Regions from separate parts of the Homo sapiens genome. Here region 1 is linked to region 2. Evidence: promoter capture Hi-C in human tissues and cell types (Jung and others, 2019). All regions are on one chromosome and are shown on one strand. Each heading gives the region's core, a stretch centred on a gene start or on the middle of the fragment in contact. The rest is flanking DNA. Distances are from core to core; before and after follow the strand shown. Region 1 has its middle 32 kb from the start of SERPINB12. Region 2 holds the start of SERPINB5 (serpin family B member 5).

Region 1 (6,852 bases), core at 3,290-5,789, 35 kb after region 2:
GTATTTTTAGTAGAGACGGGGTTTCACCATGTTGGCTAGGCTGGTCTTGAAATCCTGACTTCAGGTGATCTGCCCGCCTTGGCCTCCCAAAGTGCTGGGATTACAAGCGTGAGCCACTATCTGTTTAAGATTTCTAAAATCTTTGTGATTGATATGTTATGAATATATCACAATTTATTCATTCTACTCTTGATGGACATGTGGGTATTTCCAGGTTTGGGCTATTACAAATAGTACCATTGTGAATATTCTAGTACATGTTTTTTGGTGAAATATGTGTGCATTCCTGATTGTTACACACACACATATATATATTATATATATATACATTTTATATATATATAAAATGTATATATATATTTTAGTGGTTTTCCCAGTGCCTCTCTATCTTTCATTATGATTGTATAATAATTATGAGTGATTACTTTTTCCAACTATGACTCCTACCATCACCACTGCCATTCTTGGAGAAATTATTATGAGCCAGACACTTTGCTAGACATGACATATGTTATAATTCAGCTTCCACAGCAACCCTATGGGGCACCATTTGAGGTGAAAGGTGCTAAAGTTCAGACATGCGACACAAAAAAGCTTGCTGAGCACAGATGGCTACTGAGTTATATGGTTAGGACTTAAACCCCAGCTCTCTGACTCCACAGTCCATACTTTTTAATCACTATGATTTGATTATATTACAAAACTTACTTGTATTTGGCCATAAAAAAGAATTAAATCATGTCATTTGCAGAAACATGGATGGAACTGAAGGTCATTATCTGAAGTAAAATAAGACAGATTAATCATCTTAGGTGAAATAACCCACATAAAAAGACAAATATTAAATGTTCTCACTTATATGTGAGAGCTACGATATTTGATCACATGGAGGTAGAGTGTGGAAAGATAGAGATCAGAGACTGGGAGGGGTGAGCTGGGGGAGGAGGGGAAGATGAAGAAAAGTGGCTTAAAGGGTACAAACATATAGTGAGATCGAAGGAATAGAGTCAATGTTTGATTTCAGAGTAGGGTGACTGTACTTAACAAAAATGTATTGTACTTGGGTGATGGACAGCCACATACCCTGACTTGATCACTACACATTTTACACATGACATGGAACAAAATTTCATGTGTGCCCATACATTTTTACAAATAAAAAATGAAAGAGACCTAAAGTCCCTTTAGCCTGTTTAGTGTTGGTTGCTTTGCATCAAGAAATTGATGATTCATAGGAAAAAACAAAACAAAAAGCTTCAAGGGCAGATTTTCCTCTATGTTAAAAATGAAATGTTATGTTGAATAGAAGACAAATGAATGTAGATAAAAATAAAAGTTAAATGTTTACATAATAAGTAAACATTCCATAAATACTTGCTTTTCAAATATGTCTGGTTAAATGTAATTTTTGGAAAATTCTGTTTCTTTCTCAGGAGTCCTGTTCAGTCAACTGTATGGCATTTGTGATTTATATCAGATTAAAAAGACTTCCCTTCTAAGTTTTAGCTCTTGGACTAGAAACCACTAGCACAACATTCTTACCCTCAACCCCACCCTACAGTCATGGAAGATTTAGGTGATGGGCGTTTCCCTGTTCTTTTGTCCTTGTCACCATCCTCTGCCAGACAGTAACAGCTGCTTGAGTTTGTGAAAGCTTTTTGAGAAAAGAGATCAAACTGTTTCACTAACGGCAAATGACTATTCCTCTCCCAAGGCCTGGAACAGACAAAGGAAATGGCATTATTCTCCATTAGAGATGAGATAGATACAGACGTGTCCCTGGAACTTCTGACCGCATTTGAGGAGTCTTGCCAGTTGCACGTGGCCTGAAATGACAGCCCTCCCTGTCTCTATCACAGGCTGCTTTGCACTTCTCACATCTCCTGGGACAGGATCTATCACACAGTAAAATAAATACCAAGGCATATTTTCAATGGATGGAAAATAGAGTTTGAATGGGCAGGTGATCTATGTGTTTGTGTTGGTTGCCTCTTGCATCTAATGAGGGCTTCTCTGATGACATAAAACAAGATCGTCTTGTGTTTCTGAAAGTGTGTCTGGAGGAACAGTAGTTGTGTAGGGTATGAGAAGCTGCTATGAAATAGGAGTCCGTGGTTGAAAAATCTTGAAAAAGCTGTTTTGAACCAAATTAAACAGGTTCTGCAGTACTCTTCAAGCTTTCAAGAAGTTGATGTGGCCGGGCGCAGTGGCTCACGCCTGTAATCCCAGCATTTTGGGAGGCTGAGGCAGGTGGGTCACCTGAGGTCAGGAGTTCGAGTCCAGCCTGGCCAACGTGGTGAAACCCTGACTCTACTAAAAATACAAAAATTAGCTAGGAGGCTGAGGCAGGAGAATCACTTGAACCAGGAAGGCGGAGGTTGCAGTGAAAGGAGATTGCACCATTGCACTGCAGCCTGGGCAACAGAGCAAGACTCTGCCTCAAAAAAAAAAAAAAAAAAATTGACGCAGTTGACGTCTTTTCTGAATATCTGGAGGAGGGTACAGTGTCTCGTTCCTTATTTATTTTATTTTATTTTTAGAGACGGAGTCTCGCTCTGTTGCCCAGGCTGGAGTGCAGTGGCATGATCTCGGCTCACTGCAAGCTCTGCCTCTCGGGTTCACGCCATTCTCCTGCCTCAGTCTCCAGAGTAGCTGGGACTACAGGTACACGCCACCACGCCCGGCTAATTTTTGTATTTTTAGTAGAGACGGGGTTTCACTGTGTTAGCCAGGATGGTCTCGATCTCCTACCTCACGATCCGCCCACCTTGGCCTCCCAAAGTGCTGGGATTACAGGCAGTGAGCTACCGTGCCCGTCCTGGTTTCTTAAATTTATACGACCTCTAAACCTGGTAGTCACCCTGCATCTTGGAGGACAATTGTTTAGTAGAGTGAGTTTTGGGAAAAGTCAACTTAGCTGGGAAATAGACTTAGTAAGAAAAATCAAGATTTTTCCGGTTGCCATGTGGATACTATGGAAAGAACCCTGGTGTGGGAGGAAGCCCTGGATTCCAGCAACCAAACCACTCCTATCAATACCTGTATATGAGGGAGGGAGGGTCTTTATCTCAGGGATTTCTGAGATTCCTCTTGAAGCTAATAGTTCACGGGGCCCAAACAAATCCTCCATCCTGAGCCATCCCTCACCCATCCATCTATGTGGAGACGGCTGCCATTTCCATCCCTAAAAGCATGGTCAAGGGTCTGACACTCCTCTCTGACACTAGGAACAAAGGTTGTCCTCCCAAAGGTGAAGAGGCATGATTGCTATGTGCGCCGCCCCCCTCCCCCCAACTTTGGCAGGAAAATGAGAACAAGTGAGGCAAAGACTCACTTGTTATGTCAATTCTAGGACCACATATTAGTGGTGAAATGACTTTTTCTTTCCAGCAATCCCAAAGTTACTGAGGGAGGTAGGAAATGTCAAGACAATGCAACCAACTTCTCTTCCACACCATATAGCTGCTTTTCCCCTGCCCAAATATAAACACAGACTTGCCTCTTTCTTGCAGGCTGCCTAGTCTTTTACTGTTTATTCAGGCTGTTGCCCACACGAGCACCATTGCATACAGGTGTGTAGGTAGATCCCTGCACAAGGATATCCTACAGAGATGGTTAGAGGGAGCTGAAGTCAAGCTTGTAGTCCACTTGCATAGCAGGGCTCCAGGGTGTGGGGCTGTGCCTGTCTGAGAAAGGGTCACCTCTTTTGCATTCACAAAAAGATAGGGTATAGGCTAGCAGTGGCCCTGTTCAGTACTCAGAAAAATTTGCAGAAGAAAAAAGAGCATCATTACATCTTCAGTACTACTATCATTACCATTACTGACATCATCATCATCAATTCGATATGTTACCTTGCTAAGATAATGATCCTCTGTAAAATTAGGGCAATTAGGAGTATATAGATTTTAGGAGCAAATAAGCTGATGAGAAGTAGGCTCTGCTTAGGAGGATGGACATACCCTGGGGGAGAGCATGAGTGAGGGGCGCTGGTATCAGCTGATTTATTGCAAGGAGCAGTCTGATAGCCGTGATGACATGCTGAGACCTGACTGGAGTCAACCTGGGGTCCAAAAGGAGTCGTTGCCATCTCTAGTTCCATCTTTCCTTAGGGAGGATGCCTGGATAAAGGGAGCTGGATGCCTAAGAACCAAAGCCTGGGTACTGGAGAGATGGACACTTGTGCACAGCACCCAAATAAACAAGCCTTCTTTCCTTTGTCAAGAGCTGCTGTCGATAGCTAAATTTAGTCAGCCGCTAGAGGGAGGTGCTGGGAAGTTAGGATGAGCTGTTTTCTCTTGCCCTTAATTCTTCTTGCTGATTTAGGGGAAAGCAGGAACTCCGCGGATTGGATAATTAGGTCAATGGCTTTCCACATAGAGAACAGGTTTTCCCATCGTTGGGCAGGTGTCATTGCAATGTTGCTGGCCTCAGAGTTGGCCTGCCTGAGCTGGCGAACAGGAGACCATTTGGATATTGTTCTCTTTGTTACCAAAATTCATCACAGGCACTGATAATGGAGGTATAGTAAGCATTAAAGAAGATTTGCACTCTGTATTCAATAATTTTAAGCACTTCATTCCCAGTCATAAATTTATTTTTTCATTTAATAACATTGTATTGAGCATCCAATAGACAGCTATCTGAAACGACCTAACTAGACCCTCATTTGCTGTCTCCATCTTGTCCACAAGGTTATCAAGGAAATTTTCGTCAATCTAATTACTCATCTTTTCATTAATTCTTTGGATAAAAACTTATTGGCCAAAGTGTGGGAGAAGAGGTAGGAATAAGACACAGAGCTCATAGCCGTGTAAGAGAAAGTGAGCCGCGAGCAGAGCTGCGATGGGTTATTGGAGGGGCGCTGGAGCAAGAAGGAGGACTCCCGGCTCAGTCTGAGCTGAGTCTGAAAGGACCAGCAGGAATTAGTTAGGAAAACAAAGCCGGGGGGCTAGTGGCCCACACACAGCAAGGACTCAGGAGAAAGGAAATGGCTGTGGGGTCGCGGTGGGTGGTGAGTGTAGGCAGGACTGTGCATGACACCCCAACACTCTAGGAGGTTGAAATTCATCCCAAGGACGATCAGGAGGAGGAAGACAATTCACAGAGGTGCCTGTCAAACTACCTACGGTGAAGGAACAGTTTCCCCCTTTATATTACCAATTCATCATAGACCAATACTTAAGTAAAACAAAATAAATATGAGTTCCAAGGAAAGTAAAATAAAAAAATGAAGACACCCAAAACAGAAGCCCTAGCTTTTCATGATTAGTTTCGACATACATAAAATTACTTGGTGAAGTTTTCCTAACAGTTTCTAGATTCATAATCTCCATTTCTATACTTACGTCATGATGGCCAAGTTTCAGAATCCACAGACTGCCACAGACATGGAGCCTCCTGAGAGTCTCAGTAGTTGAAAGGAGGGCAGAGGAGAGCTCAGATTTGCATTTTTGAAAAGTGTACCTGGCCAGTGGCTGGTGAAGCCTGAAAGAATGGATACAGGTGAGGAGGGAGTTGAAGTAACCCAGGTGAGAGTGTGTGAGGCCTCAGCTTCAGCAGTGGTGGTGGGGATGGGAAGGGGATATCAGGATATGCGCTCTGGAGAGCCATTTTCCCAGTGTAGACACAAATGGGTGTGGTGATTTATTGGGTAGGGATGTGTGGGTGAAGGACCACAGGGGTATTGTGATGGTTCTTCATTTTCAGGCTTATACAACTTAATGGAACCATCTTGGACATGGGAAGTGCAGTGTGACTGTGTACAGGACTCCGTTTTGAAGGGCAGGGCTCTCTGCTGGCATCTCCAGATCTGGAAGATGGTTTCAGATGATAACCATAGGCCTCTATGAACATTTTTAGAAAAGTCCCTGTGTTTATTATGGACAAAGTTTATTATTTTGCAACATCTAAGTTTCATAGGTGTCCTGAATTGAAAATGTAGAATAAAAAGAGTTAGCCAATTAGCTGGTTTGTAAATATCTTTTTGTTGTAATTGACATAAAAGAGGCATCATGGACATGGAATTGTTAAACTGCCTCTGAGCAGTGTATATTACAACTTGTTTACCAGGTTGGCAGCAGAGGGGCAGAAGGAAGGATAAAGGGAGAGAAGTATGCAGGTGCGTTCATATTAACATTTTGTTGATAGCCATTGATGTGTGTGCATCTCTTTTGGCTGTACTATAGGAACATACTAAGTAATTCAATGGAAACATACCTTCTTGCTAATACTTTAATGGTATAGATCTGCTGATGAATTCTCTTAAGAAACATTATACTCAATGTATTCTGTTGCTTTAGGTTTCATTTTAAATTGAGCATTAAGGGAGTGCAGTATTCTGACTGGAACTCTGCTAATGCTTTTATCTAGAGGTCTGTTGCCATTTTTGACTTCTATGAAATTTTTGTCCCAAGAAAGGTGGGGTTGCATTTTTTTCTAACAGCAAAAAAAAAAAAAAAAAAAAAAAAAAAAAAAAGGGCAGGATGGGGAGTAGGGTTTTTTGTTTGTTTTCATTTTTAACATGCTTTTAGTTGCTTTTAGTTTTAGCTATGTTGATTTTGAGATGCCAATGGGACATTCAGCAAGAGACAGGAAAGGATACTAGTGTTTCTAGAGGCGAGAGATGAATCAGCTTATGGTGGGGTCCAAAACCATGGCTGGGAGAGAGCATCAGGAGAAGAGAGTGGGCTGAGGGCAGAACCCAGGGAAGCCAGGATGGGTGGCCCGCCAAGGAAGAGGAGCCATAGAGAGACGGGATGATTTTAAGAAGGGAGTGATTTGGAGAGCCAAGAGCCCAGTGCTACAGAAGACCCAGCTCCCTTACAGACTGAAAAGTTCCTATTGCATTTT
Region 2 (7,565 bases), core at 2,305-4,804:
GAAAGGTAGCTGGTATTTAAGGAAATGTCAAACTGACTTCAAATTTTGGGTTGAATTCATCCTTAGTTGAATTCCTGTCGGGTAGGGTTATTTCCCACTCATTCATTCTCTACCCACTATGTGCTAAGTACCCACTATGTGCCAGATACTATTCTAAGTTCTTGGACTACATCAGTGAAAAAAACAGACCAAAAAAATCTGCTTAGATTTCAGCTGAAGGAGGCCATCAACAGTAAACATAATAAGTGAATTGTATAGTATATCATATAGAAAACTATAAAATCTGGCCTTATATCTGCTTCTTATAGGTTCAAAGTTCATCAAGAAGAAGGGAGATCAAAAATACTCTGGAGTTGACTATTCATGGGCCCACATAAAAAGCTTTTCATGAGGCAAGAGACTGAAGATTATAACAGGATAATAACACCATATTGTTATTTTTATGTTGTTGCTCTCTGAGTTATTAGTATGAGTAGAACCTTTTTTCTTATAAGTCTGATGCTTCTAAGTCCACTTGTTAACATAATTGACATGACAACTTTGTTCTTTCCAGGCATTTCCTTCAGGATGTATGTTTTTTTTTTTTTTTTTTTTTTTTTTTTACAGTATAACAATTAGTGTAGGTATCTGACTTATAGAAATGCAAAGCTAAACTGTAGTCGGCTTGAGATCCATAGTTAGGTCTTATTCTGGGTCTTGCCCAGGGTCTGACACACTCAAAAAATGCTTATTCAGTCAATCACAGACTCCAATCAAAATGTCCAGTTAAAACAGGGAAGCAGAGTAGAAACCTATTGAATGCAGAAGACTTTATTGAGGCCACTCTTTCCTAAAATTAATCAGCAGGCATGTTCTCCAGAAACTAGTTTGAAATTCTGTAATTTAAAAAATGTGAACTGCTTGTATAACTCCATCCTCTCCCACTTTTCTGTTTTCTAGTGTCTTTTTAGGTAGAATTCTAAAGAACTTAAAATTTTGGCTGCCGTGGAAAAGAATATTACTGGGAAATGGGTCTTCTCAGTCAAATAGAATCACAGTTTTAATACTCTTTCCACTGAATGGGAACCACTTTTTTTTTTCCTGCAATTTTGCCTAAATCAACAGTGTGTTTTGTCAATGATGTTACACCTGAGACTTGTGAGTCCTTGCCTTACTTGGGTTCAATGAGAGGGTGAGAACATTCACGTACAGGGTCTGACCTCCAGAGATACTTCAACAAGTGAAAGCTTTTGACAGGAAATGTTCTGTTTAATCTTTTGTTAACATATCTGTCCAATATACCTTGTATCATCCCAGCTCTGGACCTCCGTTCTCAGGCTTAAATGGTCTCCTGATGTCCAATGATGCTGCCTCCATGATCCTTCCCCAGTCATAGCCAGACTGAAAAGGTCACACCCATCTCTGAACTACTTTTGTCATTTGCACCTCTCTTAAGTCCCTTATTACATGCCTCCAGATACTTTCTTTTGTTTCTTGTCTTCCTACTGTACCCTTTGGGGAGAGGGAACATGTCTTATAGCCCCAGTCGAATGGTGCCTCTAATTTTCACCCAGTTAGAATCACCCAAAGGCATTTCACTTTGCTAGAACTTCCTTGGGTATTGTTGAATTCCTGTCATTGGAAATGTTTCTGCCCCGGTTGAGCAAGCACTGAACAGGAGTGTTTTAGAGGGAATTAAAACTTCAAAAAGGAGAATAGAGAGGCTCTACCATTTAAATGCAAGTCGCTTGAAATCTGTAGACCACAGTAGCAAGCACGAAGCAGGTATTCAATAAATGTGGTGAATTCAATGTCAATAACATGCTCCAGTCTTTTGTCCACTATTCCCCGAGCCTACCTAACCAATGGGCAAAGTGGTACTAATTGCCATCATTAGGAAGCACATGCTATGTGTCAGAAAGTATGTAAGAATTGTCTCTTCATCCATCTCTGTCTATATCTCATTTTATCGATCTTATTGACAAATGAGAACTATATATAGATCTCATTTTACAGATGAGGAATCTGAAGATAAAGGGATTAAGCAATTTGCTCAGGATTTCTCAAGCAATGAGTGGTTAGACTTAGTTTGCAAATTTATGACTCTGCTCCCAAATTCTCATTTTCCCTCCTACAGCTGGATAATAGAATTTTTAAGAAGCATCCTTCCACACCTCCTCACCTATGACCTTCCCTCCACTTGCTCCACTGATGCCTAAAATTCTGTTTTTGGAGTTCACTTAGTTTATGACTTTGATTCTGGTTAACATTAAAATACCCAGGACATGGGGGAGGGGAAGCTGTTATCAATCTTAGTTTAGTCAGTTAATATAGCGAGTTGCTCTTATTCATTACTCAACAAGCACTTATTGACTGCATACTGTACATCAGGTCTGTACCAAGCTTTGGTGTTATAAAAATGAATGAAGTTTGGCACTTACCTTTAACATTGTTGTAGTCACATATAGGAGAATGTAAGAGATTATTATGAAACAATGTAGTAAATGTACAATAGGGAATTCTAGATAAGCACAGCAGAGAAGCAACCAGCTCCGTTTCAGGTCCTTTCCTGAGACTGATTCGGCTGGAAGGGAGTAGGTCCCGCCAAATGAAGAAGCTGTGGGAAGACAGGAGGACAAGAACAGGCTCCACGAAGAGATTTCAGAGCAGAGCTGCGTACTCCTTTTTCTTTTTGTTTCTTTTGCTCTGTCACCCAGGCTGAAGTACAGTGGTTAGCTCACGGCTCACTGCAGCTTTGACCTCCCAGGCTCAAGTGATCCTCTCGTCTCAGCTTTCCAAGTAACTGGGACCACAGGCATGCATCACCACACTAGGCTATTGTTTTACATTTTTTGTAGAGATGGGGTCTCACCATGTTGCCCAGGTTGGTCTCAAACTCCTGGGCTCAAGCAATCCGCTCACGTCAACCTCCCCAAATGCTGGGATTACAGGCGTGAGCCACCGCGCCAGGCCTGAGTAATCCTAATCACAGGATTTTAAAAAGAAACTTCCTGCGCCACCCATTAAACAATATCTCCTACCAATTTGGTAGTAAATATTTTGCTAATAGTACCTAATTTTTAGGTAGGCACTGTGTTTATACATATATCCATTCCTTCTTTTTTGATTGTCTTTCTGTTTAATGGGCAGCTACCTCTCTTGGCATCTAGCAGAATGAGCTGCTGCAGTTTACACAAAAAGAATGGAGATCAGAGTACTTTTTGTGCCACCAACGTGTCTGAGAAATTTGTAGTGTTACTATCATCACACATTACTTTTATTTCATCGAATATTTCACCTTCCGGTCCTGCGTGGGCCGAGAGGATTGCCGTACGCATGTCTGTACGTATGCATGTAACTCACAGCCCCTTCCTGCCCGAACATGTTGGAGGCCTTTTGGAAGCTGTGCAGACAACAGTAACTTCAGCCTGAATCATTTCTTTCAATTGTGGACAAGCTGCCAAGAGGCTTGAGTAGGAGAGGAGTGCCGCCGAGGCGGGGCGGGGCGGGGCGTGGAGCTGGGCTGGCAGTGGGCGTGGCGGTGCTGCCCAGGTGAGCCACCGCTGCTTCTGCCCAGACACGGTCGCCTCCACATCCAGGTCTTTGTGCTCCTCGCTTGCCTGTTCCTTTTCCACGCATTTTCCAGGATAACTGTGACTCCAGGTAAGCAAGGTGGGGTAGCAGGGCTGGTGACTTCCTTTTTTCAGGGAAATTCATAAATATCGTTATTTGAGCTGATTTGAGATGGTGAACAAAATGGACTTAGGTCCATTTTGGGGCTGTTTTCAAAGACGGGCTGTTGGGTTGAGTACTGTCGCCTCTCATCCCCCATGTTGGCAGTATTTCCAGCTCCCAACCCTTTGAGCACCAGGAACACTGCAGAGGGAGTAAAATCACTTAACCATACAAGGTAAGAATATGAAGAAGTCACGTGGCTCGGAGGTTTTGGTGGTAGAGGGGTGCAACCGTGATTCACGGAGGAGAAAATACTTCTGAGGACATTTTCAGGCCTACTTTGGAACTCAGAATGAATTTTGCAATGCTAGTTTCAGAAAGGGTGTGGTACCCGCAAACTGGGGAAAGTTGAGAAGTATTGGTGGGTCTGGCTGGCTCTTCTCCCTGGCTGACGTTGTAAGGCTGAGATTTAGGCATATGGACTGCCCTTCTTTTTGGCATTTTTAAGCATCAGATCGCTGTTCATCTACTTGCAACTGCATTCTTCTAAGCGGAAATTATTCTCCCTTCAGTTTTCTGGGTTTCAGCATAACTTTAAACAAGTTACACATTTCAGATGCATATTCTTGGACTTATAAATTGTAATAGCTGCTTGTAGTTTCTTACTCATATGCTGTACACTTTTTCTTATGGCTTCATTTAAGCATATCATACTAAAAACCAACATGCCAGGCTATTCCAGAGACTTGTAACCAGATCCTCAGAGCTGGGGGCTCTTAGACATATTTCAGCCCAGCCCCCTCATTCTGTAGATGAGGAGCAGAACTCACAGAGGTGATCTGGTGTCCAAAGGCACACAGCTTGTAAGTAGCACCGCTGAGATCAAATCAGGCCTTCACACTTGCAGCTCGGGATGTTTCCACAACACCGTGGGTTCTGTTACCATCTTTTTCATCCCCTACATCTCCCGGGAGGTTTTCGATAATGGGTTCCAAACCTCAGTCCCTGTCAGTTAGTGTAAGTGTTCGATGAGTTCCTTCATGGGTGGAGATGAAGCCTGTCTGAGGAAAGGAGTCTCCAAAGGAAATGAGTCAGCAGGTTTATATCTTTGCTTCCTAACGCCTTGAATTGTGCCACTTCAATCCCTCTGGGTTGTGGATTGACTTTGGGGCTATGCAGTCTCAGCGATTTGGGCCATTCTGGTGTGGCTGAGTCTGGCTGTAAGTTTACTGCTTGGCAACAGTGGGCTGGGTCAGTGGTCAAGATCAGGCTTCTAAAGAGACAGGAGCAGCTATGATGCTTCAGAGCAAAGCAGACGCCCCCCTGCCATGGGAAATTAAAGCAATTACTAATAGCTGTATTGTACTTTCTTGCCCACAAAGCACTTTTCATATACATTGATTCACTTAATCACTTCGTTTAGTCCTCATAGTCTTTCACATTGCAGAAACTTCAAAATATCCTATTTTCTTAATCCTGCACATCCTTTGCTCCTCAAAGACTTAGAATGTGGACAACAGAGGTTGTGTTTTTTGGCATTCCATTACTGATATTATAATAGGCAAGGTTTCTCATGGCATTCCCTAAGGACTGGTTATACCAAATACTTGAGAGATGTTTTTCACCATGTCTTTCCATCTTTAAAATGAGGCAGGCCAGGCTAAATGATATCTACGATACTCTGACACAGTAAAAACGTAGTTTTTTTTTTTTTTTTCTTGAGATGGAGTCTTGCTTTGTCACCCAGGATGGAGTGCAGTGGCACGATCTTGGCTCACCGCAACCTCACCCTCCCAGGTTCAAGTGATTTTTCTGTCTCAGCCTCCCAAGTAGCTGGGATGACAGGCACGTGCCACCACGCCCGGCTAATTTCTATATTTTTGGTAGACACAGGGTTTCACCATGTTGGCCAGGCTGGTCTCGAACTCCTGACCTCAAGTGATCTGCCCGCCTTGGCCTCCCAAAGTGCTGGGATTACAGGTGTGAGCCACTGTACCCGGCCAAAAGTTAAGGTTTTAAGGGATGAAAAAACTATACTCATAGCTCTGTTTAAATATGCACGCCCGTGATGTGTGGGTGAAGAGTGTGGTTGATGGTCTATAAGTAAAATGAACATATATTGTTCAAATCAGGATATGTTTGAGAGTAAACGGGGCACTGTTATCAATGTCAAGACAACAGACATAAACCAGGATTGTCCCAGGCAAAGTGGGATGTATATATCCTACCCACAGGACTTTTTTCTCACCTAAATGGTCTAAAGACAAAAAATGTGAGGACCATTGGCTCAGATGCATAAAAAACTTAGGAAATCTTCATACAAAGACCAGTGACAAGCTATAAGTCTAGAGAAGTGAGCACGGCCCTACCCCCAGCCCAGTACATGCGTCTCCATTCACTGGGGCCTCTCTGAATTGAGTCAGTTCTCCCTGTCCCACGTTTTTGCAAGGCTAACTCCTACTTATCCTGTAGGACTCACCTTTAATGTGACTTACTCAGTTGTCACTGTCTCTGAGGAGGTGTCACTGAGGTTTCTAGTATGGGGGGTCTGTCACTCCTGGGGATCCCATAGTGACTTGGGTGCTCATCAAAACACTTAAAACAGTCATCATACCACTAACTGACAGCTCCTTGGAGGCAGGGGCTATGTCGTTTTCACCTTTTCTTAATGCTTACCCTGACACAAATTAGGTACTCAGTTAATACTTACTAGATGAAAGCAACATCATACCAAGAGTTTACAACATAAGTGGCAGAAAGGGAACAAGGGCTTCTTCAAGTAGGAAAATCATAGGGAAGAAGTTTTGTGTCGATTGAACAAACCATGCAGGATATGTTGATATCTTCAAGGGGAGACTTCAGGACATGCAGGATTTTTGGAACTCGAGAGACTTCTGAGAGAACAAATGCCAGCAAAGATGCAATTAACAAGAAAGCAGGTGATCAGGTGTGGCGGGGAAGTGCCAGGCTGGGAGCTAGAAGCAATGAATTCTAGGTCTGGTTTTGCCACTCTCACTCCCTGCGTGGGTGGCCTGGGAGACTCACTTCATCTTTGTCTGCCTCATTTTCCTCATCTGTAAAATGAAGAGGTGTGGCCAGCCTAGATCCTCTCCAAGATCTTGTCCCACTTTCAAGGTTTATAATTTGCACAGATTGCGAAAGCAAGGTACTTGGAAATAAGTTCTTAAAACTGCATTTGTATTACTGCTTGAACTTCCATCTATCTCACTTTCCTATGGTTAAAATAAAGTTCCTTTTAAACTTTTAAGTGCTGAAAGATGTAGCGTTTTCTACATTGCAACTATAAACGAAGTTCTCCTTGTTAAAATGGTTACAGGGTTTTCACAGAAATGGAAGAAGACCCTTGTGACAAGGCAACAGAATGAAAAAAAATTTGTAGCAATTTTAGCACTTTCAACAGAAGTCATTAGGCACATTAAATTTATTATATAGGAATTGCTAATCTCTACTCTGGTACTTGCAATTTTATAGCATTTGATCATGCAAAATGGTCTGTGTAGGAAGTTTGTATTTTTTCCAGGTCATGTATTGTTAACATTGCTGAGGTTTGTTTAAATGCTTTGATTGTCTTGCAACACAGTCATGTGGCAACTGTGGCCAAAGTCATCTTTTGAGCTACCTCAGACCAGATCAACTTTATAGTGTTTTTAGGTCACTTGGGACTAATCACAGAGCCACTGATCAGATTTACCGGGCAGTATTTGATTGATTACTTAGTGGGTGATTTTTTGCAACTACAACCTTTTCCATGTACAGACCTTTTCTGTTTCCTTTAGCCAGCATCAAACAATGCTCTTGCCACTGGGACCCCAGATACTAAGGGCTGTATGACCTTCCCAGACATGAAGGAGAATTTTCTGAGAAAGGAGCCAGTCAGCATAGGAACAGGA

What was found. The method cuts DNA at HindIII sites, captures the fragments that hold promoters and counts their contacts. A contact is called where the count stands out against the background at its distance.
Region 1: a fragment that was not itself captured here is called in contact with the fragment with the promoter of SERPINB5 in region 2 in 1 of the 25 tissues and cell types used here (mesenchymal stem cells).

Annotation. Positions count from the first base shown.
Region 1 is chr18:63,507,222-63,514,073 of GRCh38, forward strand. No RefSeq gene overlaps it. Among named protein-coding and RNA genes, the nearest start is that of SERPINB12, 32 kb to the right of the region's middle. RefSeq lists an enhancer at 3,978-4,498. The HindIII fragment of the contact is 6,170 bases long and covers 1,455-6,852 here.
Region 2 is chr18:63,473,404-63,480,968 of GRCh38, forward strand. SERPINB5 (serpin family B member 5) reads left to right here and starts at 3,555. Exons shown (of 7, transcript NM_002639.5): 1 at 3,555-3,642. RefSeq lists an enhancer at 2,304-3,503. The HindIII fragment of the contact is 6,902 bases long and covers 1,805-7,565 here.